2 separate regions of the Homo sapiens genome follow, and region 1 is linked to region 2. Evidence: promoter capture Hi-C in human tissues and cell types (Jung and others, 2019). All regions are on one chromosome and are shown on one strand. Each heading gives the region's core, a stretch centred on a gene start or on the middle of the fragment in contact. The rest is flanking DNA. Distances are from core to core; before and after follow the strand shown.

The links. The method cuts DNA at HindIII sites, captures the fragments that hold promoters and counts their contacts. A contact is called where the count stands out against the background at its distance.
Region 1: a fragment that was not itself captured here is called in contact with the fragment with the promoter of MRPL1 in region 2 in 2 of the 25 tissues and cell types used here (H1 embryonic stem cells and spleen).

Annotation. Positions count from the first base shown.
Region 1 is chr4:78,570,433-78,573,880 of GRCh38, reverse strand. ANXA3 (annexin A3) reads right to left here. Exons shown (of 13, transcript NM_005139.3): 3 at 614-701. Among named protein-coding and RNA genes, the nearest start is that of ANXA3, 20 kb to the right of the region's middle. The HindIII fragment of the contact is 5,917 bases long and covers 1-3,448 here.
Region 2 is chr4:77,860,663-77,864,294 of GRCh38, reverse strand. It overlaps MRPL1 (mitochondrial ribosomal protein L1), which reads right to left and starts at 1,465. Exons shown (of 9, transcript NM_020236.4): 1 at 1,416-1,465. The coding sequence starts at 1,446. RefSeq lists enhancers at 918-1,017, 1,378-1,777 and a silencer at 3,262-3,477. The HindIII fragment of the contact is 8,859 bases long and covers 1-3,632 here.

The DNA.
Region 1 (3,448 bases), core at 798-3,297, 710 kb before region 2:
AGGATTCTCCTAGGATCTCATTATATGCTAATTAACATACTCAATCACACACCCACCAGTGCCATGGCAGTTCCGGAAACACCGACATTTGGTGTAAAAAGGGGTGGCACTACAGTTTCAAGAAATCACCTTTTTCCCAGAATCTTCATGACTATTCCACCCCTTGGTTAAAGAAACCCATAAAGGCAACAGCCCCAAACCCCCTTGTGCACGACTGTCTCTTGAGTACACTCACACTCCCCTTTCCTGAGTGTGTATTTTTCACTTTGCAATAAATCTCTGTGTTTTCAGTATTTTTTGACCCATCCTTGAATTTCTTCTCTAGATGGTGTCAAGAGTCTGGATACCAGCCAGGGTTGAGATTCCCCCGGCATTTGGGGATCTCCCCTAGACCACTAGTATCAGTGGTAATTTTTAATATTAAGTAAATATGATAAATGTTAAGATTTAATAAAACTGGGTTCTCTATATATTTCCTCGTTATTTCACAATTTTAGAAAATTCCTGACAATTTATTAAATTGAGTAAGCCAATCTGAGCAAACTGAACTTTTAGATTGTAACTTGCCTGATTTGCTTCAACATTAAGAAAGGAATTGTAAAATATCACTCACCAATTCCTCTGATTGCTTTCTGAATAGCTTCAGCATCCACTGATGGGCTAAAGTCTGGATAATCTCTTACTGTTCCTCGGTGTCCAACCTAGAAGGAAATACTTGAAAGTCCCATTGGTTCAAAATGACATCTTTCTTGTATTACATATGCATATTCCTTCATGCATATGAGAGGCATATGACAAACCCATAATTCGCACACCTTCCTACCACTTCAGGAGTGGCTCTGAAATTGCCTTTGGAAAATTATGACAGTAAGAGAAATCTGACATGGTTGACTCCATCTTGCTTCTAGCCTCACAGGCTGGCTGTCTTTGCTCATTCCTGGGTGTGGGGCAAACTAACTTCAGGAGGAATTTAGTTTATAGTTTAAATGATACTAGCTCTTCCCAAAAGCTAAACTACCCTTGTAAAATTAATGGAAGTCTACCAAGTTAGGAGGATGAGAGGGGCCTGAATTTTACTAAGATGCAGGCATAGTTACATAATTACCTGCCATTATTCTGGAGGTCACAATATTTGCAACCTCCCCAATTACTCTTGCAGATAGCATCACTATTATAGAACCTACAGTTGGCCTTTTGAGAAGTCTTTTAGGCTTTTGCATTTCTGACTACTGGACAGCCCCACCCAGACCAGCAACTCCTTTGGTGGCCCCCACTTAGAAGCAGACTCAGCCTACAAGGACTGTTTTCTATACCCCTATAATTACATCTCCAACCAATCAGCATGCCCCTTCCCTAGCCCCCTGCCCTCCATTTTAACCTTGAAAAACCCCTAACTTTTGAGCCTTCAGGGAAATTGATTTGAGTAATAACTCTGTCTCCCACATGGTGTGGCTAGCCTGGCATCAATTAAACTTTTTCTTTACTGCAATGTGATGGTCTCAGTGGACTGATTTTGTCTGCACAGTGAGCAGGAAGAACCCATCTGGCAGTTACAGTTGAAGTGATGGTCTACCCCCCAGACACAGGGAATATGATATCTACCCCATATCTCAGGAGTCCTCTTTTTCTTTTGTGTAACAAATTACAAATATAAAACATTGGTTCTCTAGAGCAGTAAGTTGTGTTAATCTTGGTGACACTGAAGAAAATTTGTTTTAAAGTAGCATTTGCAGGAGAGCAACAAGAAAGCTGAAATTTCCTAAATCTTCTTATTTTTCAAGTGATAATTCAAAGCTCATCATGGCATCTCGCACAGAAGTAACTGTGGTTTACAGACTTCAAGATGTTTTAATTAATGTTGACCATTGTCCTTGGGGAATCCCAGACTAAATGATCCATAAATGAAAACCCCCTTAGGACTGTCTGTTCTTAAGCTTTGTTTAATGAATGTGCAATTAGAAGACCTTCTAAAAGCTCTACTGACATCATAGATCTTCAGGAATTGCAAGGAAGTAAAAAATGCCACACTACTAATTTTAAGCATGTAAATTAGAAGCATGTCAGTAAGCTGGGAAAGACCATAATATAGAAAAAATATTTTAAAATTGCTTATGAGACTAAAGAAGGACAGCCACAAAGATGTTGAGAAAAATCAAAGTAAACGTAGATTTATGTGGTAGTTCCTAACTTCTTGAATAAAAATCTGTCTTTACAGTAATAATATTTCCTTTTAAACAGCATTTTTCTATCCTGTTACTGAATAGTATTGGCTCTGTTGTCTTGTATTAATATGGGTTCATTTTGGCTCTCTTGAAGGGTTTAATATTTTCATGAAAGGACATTATCTGTCACATTAAAGTGAATGGAAAATTAGTGTTCTGGCACAGTAAAATATGATAGTCTGCTGATTCATTAGATTAGACTGAATAATTGATTTCAATACACTCAAACACTGTTTAATCTTATAGCATCTAAAATAAGAACTTTAGAACCTAGAAAATAATTGCAAGTTAGAAACTAGTTGTGAATGTTCCTGACCTGAAGATACCTGTAACAAACCAGTCACTTTAGTCTGGACATGGTGGCTCACTCTTGTACTCCCAGGTCTTTCGGGGGCCAAAGACAGAGGATCATTTGAGCCCAGGAGTTCAGGGCCAGCCTGGGCAACACAGTAAGACCCTGTCTCTACAAAATATTAAAAAATTACCAGGTGTGGTGGTGTGCAGGTGTGGTCCCAGCTACTTGGGAGGCTGAGGTGGGAGGACCACTTGAGCGCAGAAGGTCAAGGCTGCAGTGAGCTGTGATTGTGTCACTGCACTGTAGTCTAGGTGACAGAGTGAGACCGTGTCTCACAAAAAAAAAGAAAGAAAGAAAGAAAGAAAATAAATTAGTCACTTTAATATAATTTTTGATGAATTCTCTTTCTCCAAGGCTTGATAAATATTTTATGGATTCACAGAGCCAACTGGCTTCATTTCACTTCTATCCATCTAGGAACTTTTGTGTTGATCTTACCTGTCCACCTTCCAGTGTCTGGCATTGTAAAAGAACTACCCCAATGTTAGATTGTTTGAATGCTTCATGCCCAGCACACTTTACATGCTAAGCACTTTATATATGTTAATTATAATCTGCATAACAGCCCCAATAAATGAGAGTGAGCAATTTCACATAAACAGCACCAAGATTTAAGAAGACCAGAGAATTTGATCAAGTCTACACAGCTAGTTGCAGGCAGAGGCTGAATTTAAAAGCAAACTAGACTATTCCAGACCATTCCTGGTGTTTCATGAAGTGCAGTCTCTGTACCACCTGGAGTGATACTTTAAATGTATATGACCAGGACACACCTTCTATATACTGAATCATATGTTTTAGAGATGGGGTGCTAAATTCTACATGTGTAAGAAGCTCCCAGGTGATTCTGTGCCATGCAGATATTGACGTG
Region 2 (3,632 bases), core at 216-2,715:
ACATGAAATAGGAAGACAATTAACAGAGAGATATCCTAGAAGCCAAGAGAAGAAAATGTGACAAGAAAATTATAATATTCAGGTATTTTTGGTTTCTTTGGATTTGTGTAACATAACGATTTCTGTCATACATGAAGATGCCTTCAACCTCCTTTCAGAAATAATATACATTTTGGTTTGCTCACAAAGTAGGCATCAGGGTCTGTTGTTATCTCTTGTCACCCCTAATTTTTGAGCAATAACTCTCTTGACACAGTTTTCCTAAAAAGAAACTCAAAAAAAAAAAAAAAAAAACTGTGATGCAGTGTTAAATATACATGTATCACTGACCTAGGATTGCAAGCTTCAGTACTTCCTCTGCCATTTACTAGTTATATGAACTTGGCCACATATCTAATAAGTTCAGTTTCTTCCTCTGTAAAATGGGGGTAATGCTGGCTACTGCTTCTACCTAAAGACCTACCTAAATTAAACAATATATATCACTGGACTTCAAAAACACAAAATAAAAGCAAAAAGCGTTGCACAGGCCGGGCGCAGTGCCTCACGCCTGTAATCCCAGCACTTTGAGAGGCCGAGGAGGGCGGATCACCTGCGATTAGGAGTGCAAGACTAGCCTGGTCAACATGGTGAAACCCTGTCTCTACTACAAATACAAAAATTAGCCAGGCATGGTGGCACACGCCTGTAGTCTCTGCTACTCGGGAGGCCGAGGCAGGAGAATCGCTTGAACCTGGGAGACGGAGGTTGCAGTGAGCTGAGATCGCACCACAGCACTCCCAGCCTGGGTGGCAGAGCGAGACTGCCGTCTCAAAAAAAAAAAAAAAAAAAAATTGTTGCACAAGAAAGGGCTGTCATCGTAGACAAAAAGTTGAAATTATTAAGATGAAAAGAGGCGCTACCAAGAGGTACTACAGAATTAGCCCCCTCAAATGATAAACGTTGATCCAAATTAGACCACCTATGGAAGTTTAAGAACTGGAATCGCCTATAACGAAGTAATTCCGAAAGCACCAAAAAGCACTTTGAAAATTGCTCTAATTTACAGACTTAAGCCACTCAAATACATCATCTTTCCCTTATCAGAACTCACCTCACTTATCACACTCCACTACCCGCAGCCCACACCCCAGTATCAGAGACGACCCAGTCCTTGCCATGCCCATAGGTGGCTGGAGGGCGCTCGATGTACGTCCCGCTCCCACTCCCTCCCTCAGGGTGGACGTCTCCAGAATGGAGTGAAACCCTTCATAAGGTCACTTTTAAGTAGTAATGACCCACCCTCTGAAAAACCTAGAGACCAGAAACAGCACGAGGCATTTTCAGCACCCAGAGCAGAATCCGCCTTGCACTCTGCTGCAACCAGAGACTCGGTGCCAGAGCCATTTCCCCTGCAAGACAACCCCTCGCCTTACCTCTACCCATGCACCTTACGGCCGCCGCCATGTTGGGCACTCCGGATTGCGTTCACGAAATTGTTCCTACGTTTCTACTGGGAAGAATTAAAAAAAGGTTCCGTTCTAGAATCCGCAAAGAGGGAAGGAGTTAAAAAGAGAAAGAGGAACGGGGCGGGGACCAAAATGAGCTTTGCTGCCGGCGTGGCGGTGTTACTGTTAGTCCTCCGTGTTGCCCAGGACCCTGTGTGTTTCGTGGTTCCGGTATGGCTGGTTAACCACCTTCGGGAAAATACGATCCTGTTGGCGATGCTGTGATTATTTTAATCCTTCCTTCTTATTCTTTTTCTTTTTTGATCCTGCAAGTGTACTCAGAGCGACAATTTTAACAGGCTGTGAGAGTACTTAATACCCAACGTAAAATCTTGAAAAACAGGAACCCTGAAACCCACTAGCTTCCTCCGCCACTTTTCCGGCCTTGGAAAGACTTATTTTAAAAATTCTCTAGGCGTTTTCGCCGCTACCCGAGGGAGGTGTCCAACTCACTGACAAACTTTTTTTGCTAATTGTCAAACTTTCTGTCAGCGCAAGATCAACCTTAGCTTTAAAATCTTAAATTAATCTCTACATTTACCCCCTGCTGGCAAGCGAGTAGACTTACCATTAGGATCAATTGAATAATAATACTTGACATTTATAAAACATTTCTAGTTTTAAAATGGCAGCTCCAAGACCCACGCACAAGTTATTCTGATAGGAAAAAAAAACAAAAACAAAACAGAATGAGTGTACTTTCCATTACGTCACAGCTGTCGGTGTGGTTTATCTAAAACAAATCTGATTACGGATTTTATCACTTCCCAGCTTACCTCCCCCACAACACACACACACACACACACACACACACACACACACACACGTTTCTCACCTCCATAACTTGGTTCATTCTATCTTCTCTGCTTCGTGTGTACCGTACCCTACATCACCTAGGTAACTTTTTAAAGATTTCGCCTCAGGCTGTGTTTCTTTTAAACAGTTTTGAGATATAATTTACATAGCATACAATCTACCAATTTAAATTGTACAATTAAATGGTTTTTAGTGTACTCAAAGAGTTGTGCAGCCATCACCACAATATATCAGTTCTTGTCACCAGTCTGAGCTTTTTATGGGTAGAAACCATCTTACTCATTTTTGTAACCTCAGCACATACTTCAGTGCCAGGCCCATAGGAGGCTCTCAGTAAATGTTTGCTGAATAAATGAATATATGCATACATGAATTAGTGACTCAATTAGAATGGCAAGCCTGCAAAATTAACTTGCTTCAATGAAGCTGCCCACAGGCAGATGAACTGGATCAAAGGCATTTCCCAGATGCTTTATTCATATTTATACATAGTACTCATCTACATGAAAAAATAAGATTTCTAATGTATTGCCTTGTCTTGTTAACACCTAAGCAGTTACTTCAAAGATTCTATAACAATTTGTGACTTATGCAAAAAAATCGAAGAACTTAAATCTATCTTTGTAAACTTTTCCTTCTCTCCCTCGCTCCCTCTCATCCTCCCTTCTTTTCACAAATATATGAGTGCCTGCCATGTGTCAAGCAGTGTACTTGGCTATGCATAAATGAAAAAAACTAATTCAATTTGAGAGTAAGTACCAGAATTGGAGCAAGTTTACCCAGTCAATTTCAGAGAAAAACAAACACTCAGATTAGAGGTGCTGGTCCTTAGACCCTATATCTGTTTCCTTTCCACAGTCCACAGCTGGGGTCAGTTGGCCCCCATCTGTGGACTTTTTTTTCCCCCTCTCAAGACAGGATCTCACTCTGACACCCAAGCTGGAGTGCAGTGACAAGATCATAGCTCATTGCAGCCTTCACCTGCTGGGCTCAAGTGATCCTCATGTCTCAGCCTCCCAAGGGGCTGGGACTACAGGCACACACCACCACACCTGGCTAACTTATTTTTATTTTTCTTTATAGACAGCGGGGAGTGTGGGGTGTCTTTCTTTTTTGCCCAGGCTGGTCTCAAACTCCTGGCTTCAAGCAATCCCAAAGTGCTGGGATTACAGGTGTGAACCAACACGGCAGGCCCCATTTATGGACTTTTTTATGTCTACTGTTCTAACAAGAGAGTTTAAACATCCTATATTGAAACTATTACCATATAGTATGCTTACATACCATATAGTATGCTTATAGTGGTAGCCTAATTAAAGTAATGTCCTG